2 separate regions of the Homo sapiens genome follow, and region 2 is linked to region 1. Evidence: promoter capture Hi-C in human tissues and cell types (Jung and others, 2019). All regions are on one chromosome and are shown on one strand. The core of a region is centred on a gene start or on the middle of the fragment in contact, and the rest is flanking DNA. Distances in the headings are between cores, read along the strand shown. Region 1 holds the start of OPRK1 (opioid receptor kappa 1). Region 2 has its middle 29 kb from the start of NPBWR1.

Region 1 (6,949 bases), core at 806-3,305:
GCCTTTTCTTCAGCCACTTGGGGATACTCTGCAATATCTGCTGAGTGAAGTGAGCTGAAGCCAGCTGCATCCCGGCTCAGCAAGACTCCATTGGCTGCACTGGGGTCTTAAGCTAATGAAGTTGCTCCCTCCAGCTCTGCACTCATTGCTGCACAACAATATCTGTTGTTGGAGCCACAAGAAAGGGAGTTAATTGCAATTTACTGGTGGGTTATCTAGTCTATCTAACAAAAATGTCAAAGCCACCCACTACCCAGGATGCTCCTTAGCATTGTAGCATTATCCAATAAAAATCTCCACATTTTCATCTTTAAAAGTGCTTTCCATGTACTTAGTTATAAGCATAGTGTTTGCATTGAGTAGAATGGCCAAGTATAACCACATGTGCTTTATATCAGTGTGTAACAGTATATAGCATTTTAGCAGTTTACTTTTCCTTTCTATTTTATGAGCTTTTATCTGATATTATGATAAAATTGCATACTCCTAAGAGCATGACTCCACAGAAGCAGCCATACTTCCTGGATTTAGAGACTCGAGTGGGTTCCCCTGGCAACCTGAGCCACCTGAGGGCTTCTCAATGCTCTGTTCATTTTGTCTTCCCTTTATTTTGGCCATTAATTTGGTAAACAAGAAAGGTAAGAGTGCTCAAATGAAATAAAACTACTGAGGCCCTTATGAGGTCTCAGCAGGTCTGATGTGTTACTGAAGGAGATGTGATCCTTCAATGACAGTTTGCAATCAGACTTAAAAGAACTCTAAGACTTGATAATAATTTTCAAAATTATTTGAAAGGGTTGAAGGGATATGGTTGAACAAAGGGAAGATTTCCTTATGCTCTTCATATTACACTGCTCAAAAGAGTTGTTCATCTCCAGGCGGCAAGACGCTGGTGGTCAAATCCCACTTTGGGGTCATGGCGTCTTGAAAGAGACAGGAACCCCCTTCTGCCCTCCGCTGATGGAGGGAAGGGCTGTATCAGTCATTAGTGTGTCCAGGTGTGGCATGGACATTAGCTGTGGGATGCAGTGGGGACCTGTGTTTGTCAGCCTGAGGCAGTGAATCCACTGGGGAAATTGAGGTGCCTAAACCCCCAGTCTCCCCCAGGCCTGTCTCCAGTACCCTGTGGAGAAGGGGAACTTCCCCACTCCCTTTCAGAACCTTCACCTCAGGGGCTGAGCCCTTGCTCCCTTTGTGTCTTGCCGGTCCCTTTGCCTGAGAAGAGAATGTCTCTCACTCAGCAGGATCTGACAGCTACCCTTGGACTAGCAGAGTTTTGCAAAGAAATGATGGTGACAGTTTATTTACGGACGCTCAGATTCGCGGCCGTATAATGGAGGCAGCCCTACTGTGAGGGAGAAGTGAGGAGAACGTGATGGCTGCAGGGATTAATGTAAAACAGAGACACTGTCACCTCCCTGGAGCACCACTGAGGCCCGGGTAAGGAGAGTGTTTTGCCCTTCTCAGATACTATCAGCAATTCAGGTAATACCCGTAAGGTGCAGTTTGTCTGCAGCCTGTCATCCCAGTTAGAGCAGACGGAATGGAAGAGAACGCAAGGAAATATTCTATTTATGTGTCTTTTAAGTCATTATTTTATGAACTGGTCTTATTCTAACTGGATCATTTTGTTACTTTCTTTGGATGGGCCATTCTAATAAGCGTAGTTCCTGACTGCGAACTATGCAGATAAGAAGTTCTAGACACAATATGAAAATCCAGGTGCATACTTGCACTAAATAGGCATGCTCCTCCTTTTTACTAAATCTAAATGGCTCAGTCTCAGGTCTTGGGGAAGGCTGCATGGCCGGGGACCAGGCGGTGTGCCGCTCGGGCAGTTAGTGGGCCGGGCGAGCCTGCGGGGCTGGAGGGGACGCGGGGCTGGGAGGCTGGGGAGCTGGGGGCTGACTCCGGGCGGGCGGGGCGGGGCAGGGACCTGCCGGCCTGGGGCGGGCGCACCAGACGAGCTCTCCGCCCGCAGGCCCCCAGCGCCCAGCCGCGTCCCGGCTGCGTCCCGCCGGTCCCGCCCCGCCCCGCCCCGCAGAGCCGCCGCCAGTAGTGGGAGACGTGCGCTGAGAGGCGGGGGCTGCGCTCGGCGGAACAGCAGCCCTCGGGCGGAGAGCGGGGCCGGGGTCCGAGAGCAGGTGATGCCAAGAGCTGAGCGGGACTCGTGAGCGCGCGGTTCAGCACCTACCAGGGCGTCCCGTAAAAAACCTCGCCTTCGCCTGTCTCTGGGAACCATAGGTAAGCTTTGGGCTTTCGAGGTGCAGTTCTAGGTAGAGCTCCGTGCTGGGAGGTGGGAAGGGGGCTTGACCCTGGGGACTCAGGCAGTCTGGGGACAGTTCCACCAGGGGCCGGTGCCTAGAATTGGTGAGGGAGGCACCTCAGGGGCTGGGGGAGAAGGAGCGAGCGCTCTTCGCCCCTCTCTGGCACCCAGCGGCGCGCCTGCTGGCCGGAAAGGCAGCGAGAAGTCCGTTCTCCCTGTCCTGCCCCCGGCGACTTGCGGCCCGGGTGGGAGTCCGCAGGCTCCGGGTCCCCAGCGCCGCTGGCCAGGGCGCGGGCAAAGTTTGCCTCTCCGCGTCCAGCCGGTTCTTTCGCTCCCGCAGCGCCGCAGGTGCCGCCTGTCCTCGCCTTCCTGCTGCAATCGCCCCACCATGGACTCCCCGATCCAGATCTTCCGCGGGGAGCCGGGCCCTACCTGCGCCCCGAGCGCCTGCCTGCCCCCCAACAGCAGCGCCTGGTTTCCCGGCTGGGCCGAGCCCGACAGCAACGGCAGCGCCGGCTCGGAGGACGCGCAGCTGGAGCCCGCGCACATCTCCCCGGCCATCCCGGTCATCATCACGGCGGTCTACTCCGTAGTGTTCGTCGTGGGCTTGGTGGGCAACTCGCTGGTCATGTTCGTGATCATCCGGTGAGCGCGGGGACAGCGCAGCGCTGGGGGCTGGGCGGGGCAGGGAGTGAGGGTCAGGCCCCGCCACTGGAGCAGCAGTGGGGGCAGCCAGCCAGGTGGTGGGGACTCTGTTCCGTGAAGGATCCTGGAAATGCTACAGGGTGGCTTCCTAGAAGAGGTGAAGGATTTTCTGGGAGTTTTTGGTGGAGTGCTGAGAGGTTCACACAGGCGAATCCGAGCGGCCAGGGGCGTCTGGAAGATTTCAGAGTAACCCCCCGACCCCACCCTAGGGCCCAGTGTTTCTGCTGAAAACTCTATGCGCAGGGCAAGGTGCCAGGGTGCTGACAACAGGGTCAGGGGTTCCTGGTAAAGGAACTAATCCATTTGCCTGCGCCAGTTTGGAGCACTTTGTTATGCCCTTTGCAAATATTTCTTAAGATAAATTTCAAGCCCACCCAATGCACTGAAGATAATTCCGAATTTCCTGGGACTCCTCAGACTGGTGTTTTGGCTTATGAAACAAAACCTGATATATGCTCTAGCGTTGTTGATATGCATATATGAGCCTTTTTAGTATCAAATGGCATCCCATTTGTTAGGAATATCAGTAAATAATATTTATCCTCTAAAACATGGCCTGTGGAGATTTTCAAAAACTACTTCGCTGTTTTTTTCACCATGAGAAATTGAAGGTTTTATTTGTGTGTGTGTGTGTGTGTGTGTGTGTGTGTGGAAATTTCTTCAAGTCAACTTCCAATAATAAGTATCCCAATATCCACATATATGCTAATTTTTTGGTAAGCAAAGTGATTCTGACTTTAAGAAAGAAAAACAAGAAAAGGAAAACCTAACTTTGTTCTGCACTTTTCTTAAGATAGATGTGTTTCCTTTTCTGGGAGCACTAGAGCTTTGTCAACACACCTGTGAGAGGGAGTAGGAAGCTTGTGTTCCTTTGAGAAGTCTCTATGAAATAAGGGCGGGATGCAAGTCACCCTGGCTAGGGACTCTGAAACGATGAATAGCTGATTTTTTTTAAGCTTGATTTTAGTTTTGAAACAGGCCATTTATTTATTATGAACTTTAACAACCATATCATGAATGGTAGCATAAATGTTTCTCTTGGAAAATTATCATAATAAAATACTGCTTTATTTTTATTTTTACTTTTTTGCTTGAGAATGTCAGGTCTTTTATTCCTATGTATGCTCTGACATTAAAAACCATCATTTAAGTCGCCAAACACATATTATAAAGCTCATTTCATCAACAACTAGTGTTTATAGCTTGGTGCCCTTGGTTTTCATAATTGCCTATTGCATTTCGCAGGAATTCTATCCATGATGAGTAAAGGTTATAGAAGGAAGGAATATTTTAAAATTAAATTGTTTGTCCAAGTCATTAGTAATCTCAGGGCTGGCCTCCACTAAAGAGACAATTAGACAAAAGAAAAGACAACTGTATTCTAAATTTTAATTAAAAATTTTAGGAGATCTTTGGTACAGAAGCTATTTATTTGGTGGTGGGGTAATAGAAACATTGTTAAGCAAAAGAAAGCTCTAGGAAAAAAAATAGCTCTGTTTCTACCCATATCATATTTAGGTGCTCAAGTAAAACAGATACATATTGTTATTTGAATGAGCCCCTGAAGTCTGCAGTTTGAAAAGAGCTTTGTAGTTGCTCTACAACCTTTTGCAGACTAGGATTAAAAAGAATGAAGAATCCTAAAATAACATTTAGATGTTATGTGCAAATATAACTCCATGGGGAACATTTGACATGTAAGAAGGAAAAAAAAATCCTGTAGATTAGCTAGGATTTTTAATGGATAGATTTCCCAAATATATCCAACACTAAAGTGTGTTATAAGGGGATAAGTTCAGCTAAAAATATAAAAGAAGTTGGATAGTTCACATACATCATTCTCCATTCTCCCACCTCCCAATACTTAAAGGTTACGTTTGATGATGAATGAAAAGCGAAGAGTTCTACTGCCATCCTGGAGTACCAACCTACTGAAATCTATCTAGTTCACTTATGGCTAGAGCACATACATTTTAAGGTCTTCACAAGTAAAAGGTTAATGTCTAGTGAACCTAGTTCACTCAAGTCTATAGCTAAGAAGGAAAAGGAGTATTTAGTATTATTTCATAATGATAGATGGTTCAAGGATTGAAAAATAAAACCTTTGAAGAAGAATTGATGTACTTGGGTTTATTTATCTTAGGAAATGAAGAGACTGAAGATCAGAGAGAGGGTGGCATGAAGTGGGTTGCGTTGTGATCATCAGGCCTGAGTGCAGAACCAGGGTGTGGAGGCCCCATAGCCCTTGTTACTGAAGAGACTGAGTAGCTGTGCTTGAAAGATGAAGGATACTATTTTATATGTTTTACATGGGAAAGGCTCCTAGCATAGTTCAACCTTATAGAAAATCATTGTAGAAATGGAACTTAGATGCTCAGAGTGTGGGCAGGTGCAGATCTAGACTGTTCAGCTCAGACCTGGGGAGAAAGAGCTCTGGAGAAAGATATGCCTACTTTTAGGCCTGCCTTACAAATAGCTTTTCCCACCTTGGGCCCCTGGAATGCTGCCTCGTATCTTCTGATTTAAAGTTTCAAGAGTTCTCATCATTTAGTGTGTACCAACTGACATAATCCCTTGATAATTAGGGCACATTAACTTTCACTGTGGAGACCTTCAAATGTCAGTGCTCCAGCCCCCTCACTCATCAGGCTTTGGGGTTTGTGGTTGTTGGGTGTGAATGTGGGTGTGACCCTCAGGATTCTTTTTTTTTTTTTTTTTTTTTTTTTTTTTGAGACAGAATCTGGCTCTATTGCCCAGGCTGGAGTGCAGCGGCATGATCTCAGCTCATTGCAACCTCTGCCTCCCAGGCTCAAGCAATTCTCTCACCTCAGCCTCCCAAGTAGCAAGGATTATGGGGATGCACCACCATGCTAATTTTTGTATTTTTGGTAGAGATGGAGTTGCACCATGTTGTGCAGGCTGGTCTCAAACTCCTGATCTCAAGTGATCTGCCGGCCTTGGCCTCCCAAAGTGCTCGGATTACAGGTGTGAGCCACTACACTTGGCTGACCATCATGATTCTAATCCTGTGGTTCCTGACTTCCTCCTGTGCAGGATTCCCCCGTGCAGTCTTCATTTTTCATTAATTAATGAACACCATGACACTCACGCCCCTTTGCCCTGCCAGAGGCAGCCCTACCTCTGACATCACAAACATCCATTCTGCCACTCTTACCACAACTTCATACGCGTTCGACTTTCTCCTCCCTTAAAGAAGATAACTAACATTTAATGAACACTTAATATGTGTCAAGCAGGTAAAGCTACCTTCTTCATGTGAATTATTTAATCTTCACAACTATAGGTATATCATTACCATACCCACTTAACAGATGAGGAAACTAAAGCGCAGAAAGATGAAATAAACTAAGGTTACACCTGGGTAACTCACGGGGCCAGAATGATGCCAGTGGCCTGACCATTGATCCTATGCTCTTATCCATTCTGCTCCTCATTTCCCACCATACCACTCCTGCAAACATTTGGATTCTTTCTTTCCAGGAGGTTCTACATTTTCTCCCAGATTGTCTCTTTTTCTCTTCCCCATCCTAGACTGCATGAGCTATCACTTAAAGCTCTGTCTTGACAACACACCCAAGTGTCCTGCCTTCTTGTACTTCTGCCAGTGTCTTCCACCAAAGCCTTAACCCTTGATCAAGCCAGTAACCTACCTTCCTTATTCCTATACCCAGCTAGTTGGATGCTGTTGGATAAAATCAATTTTATTTTTGTCAAGACAGTCACCACCTTCAAGTATATCTGACCCTAATTCTCCCTAGAAGTTTTTCTGTGTCCCTCTTCTGTTTTCCAGAAAGAGCCAATTCCTTGTTTCATTTCCCATTTTAAAAAATGAATTCAAATCTACCCTTATTCCCAAACCCTCCACCTGATCATATTCTCTTCATGGTCATATTCTTTACTCTCTTTATCATATTCTCTTCATGAGTGTTTTTACCCAGTACTTCACCAAGACACTGG
Region 2 (6,357 bases), core at 315-2,814, 280 kb after region 1:
AAACAAGAATCATTTTATGGGTACCTGAGATAGTAACAGGGTTTTGAAAACGCTAATCTATGATGACCTGAAGGTAGCACGAAGAAGTATGTACAATAAATGAGAAGAGTGAGATAAGAGAACAGCAGTGCTAGAGACAGAGAAAGTGAGTCAGGGGCAGCCAGGTGGTGGCCTGTGATGTCAGAAGACTGCTTGGCAGGAAGTGAGGCCTGAACAGGCGTTTGCCCCTTTCACGTGAAACAGAGGGATCAAGATCCTGTTTTCTTAAGACTCAGGCAACCTGAGACAACATTTCAGTGAAACTAAAGATGAAGGCAGACTTCTGAAACTCAGACAACAGAAAGCCCTGTATCTGTTAAGTTATACTGGATTTCTAAAATTGCTCTACATTTGTTCAGTTTACGCCTCAAAGGCAAGGGGAAAGAGAGCAAAGGCCACAGCTTTAAGGTCTCAGCACTTCATGGAAGCCCTGCCTCCAGCCACATGGGGCCACCTGCTGGGAATTGATGAGCTGCAGAGTAGGAAACCTGTTTTTTTTTTTACCTCAAATTCAGGTTTATAAGTCAAAAGCCACATCATGACACCTAATCATTTACTTCTCTATTTTGTTTCTTTTTTTTAATTTTCTTTAAATACGCAATTAATATAAAGCCCCATGGGATCTCAGTGATAAACTCTCATTTTCAAGATAAATGAAATGGCCAATATGGTCTGTAAACTAACAGATCAATAAATAAAACACCCAGCTTAGGACTACAAGGCGACTTCTTTATGACTGAGTAAACCATCTTTAGCAGCTATTAGAGAAGAAACACTGTCATAAATCTATTTCTTACTGCATTCTCATAACACCTCATGTGCACTTCATGCCAGTGAGAAGTGACAGCGTGCTGGCAGTCCTCACAGCCCTCGCTCGCTCTTGGTGCTTCCTCTGCCTGGGCTCCCAATTTGGCGGCACTTGAGGAGCCCTTCAGCCCACCGCTGCACTGTGGGAGCCCCTTTCTGGGCTGGTCAAGGCCAGAGCCAGCTCCCTCAGCTCTCAGGGAGGTGTGGAGGGAGAGGCGAGAGCAGGAACAGGGGCTGCACGTGTCACTTGCGGGCCAGCTGGAGTTCCAGGTGGGCGTGGGCTTGGCGGCCCCGCACTAGGAGCAGCTGGCCGGCCCTGCCGCCCCCGGGCAATGAGGGGCTTAGCACCCAGGCCAGCAGCTGCGGAGGGTGTACTGGGTCCCCCAGCAGTGCCAGCCCACCAGCGCTGCACTCGATTTCTCGCCGGGCCTTAGCTGCCTTCCCACGGGGCAGGGTTGGGCTCAGGACCTGCAGCCCGCCATGCCTGAGCCTCCGCTCCCCTCCACCTCCGCCGTGACCTCCTGTGCAGCCCAAGCCTCCCCAACAAGTGCTGCCCCCTGCTCCATGGTGCCCAGTCCCATCGACCACCCAATGGCTGAGGAGTGTGGGCACTCGGTGCCGGACTGGCAGGCAGCTCCACCTGCAGCCCCAGTGTGAGATCCACTGGGTGAAGCCAGCTGGGCTCCTGAGTCTGGTGGGAACTTGGAGAACCTTTATGTCTAGGTCAGGGATTGTAAATACACCAATCGGCACTCTGTATCTAGCTCAAGGTTTGTAAACACACCAGTCAGCGCCCTGTGTCTAGCTCAGGGTTTGTGAATGCACCAATAGACACTCTGTATCTAGCTACTCTGGTGGGGACTTGTAGAACCTTTGTGTCCACACTCTGGATCTAGCTAATCCGGTGGGGATGTGGAGAACCTTTGTGTCTAGCTCAGGGATTATAAACGCACCAATCAGCACCCTGTCAAAACAGACCACTCGGCTCTACCAATCAGCAGGATGTGGGTGGGGCCACATAAGAGAATAAAAGCAGGCTGCCCAGAGCCAGCAGTGGCAACCCGCTGGGGTCCCCTTCCACACTGTGGAAACTTTGTTCTTTCGCTCTTTGCAATAAATCTTGCTACTGCTCACTCTTTGGGTCCACACTGCCTTTATGAGCTGTAACACTCACCGCGAAGGTCTGCAGCTTCACTCCTGAGCCAGTGAGACCACGAACCCACCAGAAGGAAGAAACTCCAAGCACATCCAAACATCAAAAGAAACAAACCCCGGACACGCTGCCTTTAAGAACTGTAACACTCACCGCGAGGGTCCACGGCTTCATTCTTGAAGTCAGTGAGACCAAGAACCCACCAATTTCAAGACACAGTTGGACACACCAGGACGCCTCACCTGTAGTGAATGTGTTCATCTCCACCATTAGACCATGAGCTCTCTGAAAATAGGAACCTTTTCCTATATTTCTGCAGTACCAGTGGTCAGCACAGCACACAGACACAGAGGAAATGTTCAGTTAATGAATATGAACTCCATCTGTGGCTCATGAGGTCAGAGACTGCATGCCTTGCTCACTGTTGTGCCTTCAATACATAGTTCAGATGTAGCACATAGTAAGACTTCAAATATGTGTTTTTTGAGTGATTGAATGAATGAATAATAGGTTAATTATGGGATGCAGATACTCAGCTATTTTCATTTCTTAGAGCCCTCTTCCAGTATTAAAATATCCAAATAGAAGCTTTAAAAAAGAGCCATTTGGACATTTTGCCTGTACATTGCCAAACATCTTCATGGTGGATATATCTAGATGTGTAATACTATAAACCTGGGTGACTGCATATCATACTTCTTTAGATACTTCAACGTGGTTCAGTACAAGCATTTTCAACCATTTTCTCTGTAAGCACTACTTGTTAATTCTCCTTTATATGAAACTTAAAAAATTGGACTTCTAATCTAGCTCCTTTCTAGACAAGAGCTATTCTGCACTGGGTAAATCAGCATGCTGAGTGTACATGATTTTTCTGCTGTTCTTTCTTAGCTGAAATGCCCTCCTGCTCAGGGAAATGACCTGAAATTGCTGCTCATGATTTACCTCTCAGAACTTTGTGTCGTCAAGCGTGGCTGTGGCCTGGTTTCATGCCTCTAAAGTAAATTTCTTTTGGACAGAAATGTTCATATGCTGTACTAAACCATTACAAAAGCGATGTCCTTTTCGCTTTTTGGAAACAATAATAAAAGTAAGCAGGGAAAAGTGCAGTCTTTTAGTATTTAAAGCATGACTTTTTACATTGACATATATTTAAAACTTGCTTATCAGATATTTTAGCATCTATATTTTATTAACTGTCAGGCCAGTATAACTAAAAAAAGGAATGGTAGATATGCAAAATTCTAACACTGACTGGAGACACTGGCAAATCTGAAGTATCTTCAGAATCATAGAAAACATTATTATAGAATTCTATAGGTATTAGGCATATGCTGTTTTAGCCAAAGTCTAATTTTAAAAAAAAAAATACTAGAGTATAAACTATTGTGTGTGGATGGACACAGATATAAGCAGATACAGATAAACATGTCTAGTCAAAGTCTTAAATTTTCCAAAAAATGTAGTATAAACTGTTTTCAACTACTTATAATACAAATCATTTCTGGCATATTTGCTTCTATTTAAAAAGTTTTGTGCACATTTTCATTTGTAACTTTGGACCAAATATTTGGCTGTTATTATGACAAATGCCAAAGCTATGACTAAGTCACGGTATAGGAAAAAGTGACAGAGGATTACTAAATATCCCCTTTCTTTGAAAGGGAAATTTTCATTTGTTATCAGTAAGTCAATTCTACACTTTAGTTTGGTTACTAGCTTACATATTTGAATAGAAGATTTAAAATTGGCATCAAAAGCAAAGGTGCCCACAGATACTGTTCCCAAATAGAATCACTGCCAGCACTGTGAGCTCAACTGAGCCAAAAGAGCAGTGGCTAAGAATACCCAAGAACAACAGACCCCGGGACCTATGTGAAGGTGGAGGGTGGGAGGAGGGTGATGATTGAAAAACTACCTTTCAGGGACTATGCTTATTACCTGGGTGATGAAATCTGTAAAACAAACTCTTGTGACATGCAATTTACCTATATAACAAATCTGCACATGTACCCCTGAACCTAAAATTTAATAAAAAGAGACATAAAGAAGAAAAAAGAAAGAATTCGGCAATCTATGAACTTGGATTAAAGGAAAAAAAAAGGTTCTCTAATCTATAACTAAAATTTTGCATTTCTATTATGAACATGGCAACAAACTATAGTAGAATTAGGAGTACCTAAGGCTTTGTCACCAAGAATAATGAGAGGAATGTTCATAACTCAGTACAGGCATTGCAGAATTCTCAAAGCATGGTTTATTATTACTACTTCAAAACTGTAGTATATGATTGGACCTACCACTAGATCCTGTTTAATGCATTAATAGGCATTTGTTTTGCTTTATCACACACACGCAAAGAATACGGAAGAAACATGTTGTTCTCTTCAGGACAAAAGAGTTATTAATATAACAAACCTTATATTTTTTCCCAAAGAGTTTTCTCTATAAGAATTAAACTAAAAACAGTTATATCACCATGGTTGCACTAAAGTCAACAAATGTAAAATTTGTCATATCCCAAATTACGCCTGTAATCCCAGCACTTTGGGAGGCCGAGCTGGGTGGATCACCTGAGGTTGGGAGTTTGAGACCAGCTTGGCCAATATGGTGAAACCCCATCTCTACTAAAAATACAAAAAATTAGCTGGGTATGGTAGCAGGCGCCTGTAATCCAGCTACTTGGGAGACTGAGGCGGGAGAATCACTTGAACCCTGGAGGCGCAGGTGGCAGTGAGCCAAGATGCTCCACTGCACTCCAGCCTGGGCGACAGAGTGAGACTCTGTCTCAAAAAAAGAAAAGAAAAGAAAAAGTATGTTATGCTTAAATTGATTGTACTTGGAGAAATTCCAATGTATGGGATAATATAAAAATAACATACAAATAAAGCTATTGTGAAATTAAAATCCTGGTATCTTCATGAGCATAGAATTTAAATTTAAATTTCTTAACAATTGTGTGCAAACATATCATCAAAATCTAAACAATACAGAAGACTAACACAATTATTGAAATTGTTTCTGGTCAAAATTATCTTAATTGTGGTTTCTTAATTCTGGTTTAAGAGTGAATCTATAACTATCAATATTTCCAATTTTGTGGGTTTGACTTTAACTGGTAATTTTTATTTTAATATGCAAGATGTGGTTACACAGTCATGAGAAAACTTGCCATTTCTGAGTAAAACCTGGGGAAGTTATATAAAAGACCCAACTGACTTGAATAATTAATACTGGGTATTTTTTCCTTACAAAAATTGTCTCAGTGCTCCCTCTGGTGGCTACTCTGGAAAATTGACTCGTCTGTTCTCCAAAGTCGTTTCCAGGGCTTAAAATTTCAAAGAAAATTTACCAAAACTCTAAATTATTGGTGTAAATGGTAAAATTAGCAGCGAAGCTGCCTGAAACATAAATGCCTAGGATTAAAGATATTCATTTACCTACCCCTGTATTCAAAACCATTCATTGGGTACTTACTGAGTCAGATTCTGCTTTGGGTGTCAAAGGCTCAGGAAGCACCGGGCCCGCCCTCAGGCGGCTCACATGCAGTGGGAATGACAAAGTCAAGGAAGCAAAGAAATAAAATACCTAGAAATTCTAGCCGAAACAAGGAGTCAAAATACAGAAGAGCACTGAGTAGTAAGCTGAAGTCTTCCTTCTGAGTAGATAAGTTGACCTCGAGGATAAGAAGGAGTTGGACTTATGAGAACTGGGGTGGCATCGCTGGTCAAGCACAGAACAGGTGCAGAGACACTGTGGTGCAGAAGCCTGGGTCTGGGCGGCCATGGCCCCTGGGGCATGGTGAGCCCAGGGGAAGTAGCCATGGGAAGAGTTTGGGGAGCAAAGCAGGGTGGAGCCAGGCAATTCCCTAAAGAGCATGGTAAACATGGTAAGACATTTGGATTCTATTCAAACTATAGTGAAAATCTATTAAGAGACATTTGCAAGACAGTGAGTGAAACAATTTATTCTTTAATAAGATAACTCTTACTGCTACAGGGAGAATGGGTTGGAGGGAAGCATATCAGTTCACAAGGCTGTTTCAGTTGTTCAGGCAAGGGATGGCAGGACTCCCAATAGGGGACTACAGTGGGAGTGAGGGAGAGGCACTGAGCATTTATTCAAGATCTACTTTGGAGGTGGAATCAGAAGCCCCAGCTGATAAACTAGATATAGAAAAAGAAACTAAAAACAAACATCTAGAGAGAGCTCCATATAGATAAGGAGAAAGTAGCCGTGCACAGTTTGGAAGTGAGGCTAGGGGAGAACAAATGTTCTGTTTAGGGCGGAGAGGGAATAACTCCCATAGGCTCTTACTGGCAACTGATCCCATTATAAAAGGTAGAATAAGAGAAAAA

The links. Contacts are between HindIII fragments. The study calls those that stand out against the background at their distance.
Region 2: a fragment that was not itself captured here is called in contact with the fragment with the promoter of OPRK1 in region 1 in 1 of the 25 tissues and cell types used here (mesendoderm cells).

Annotation. Positions count from the first base shown.
Region 1 is chr8:53,246,743-53,253,691 of GRCh38, reverse strand. OPRK1 (opioid receptor kappa 1) reads left to right here and starts at 2,055. Exons shown (of 4, transcript NM_000912.5): 1 at 2,055-2,244; 2 at 2,607-2,911. The coding sequence starts at 2,655. The HindIII fragment of the contact is 8,793 bases long and covers 1-3,040 here.
Region 2 is chr8:52,964,927-52,971,283 of GRCh38, reverse strand. No RefSeq gene overlaps it. Among named protein-coding and RNA genes, the nearest start is that of NPBWR1, 29 kb to the right of the region's middle. RefSeq lists an enhancer at 261-762. The HindIII fragment of the contact is 7,141 bases long and covers 1-5,134 here.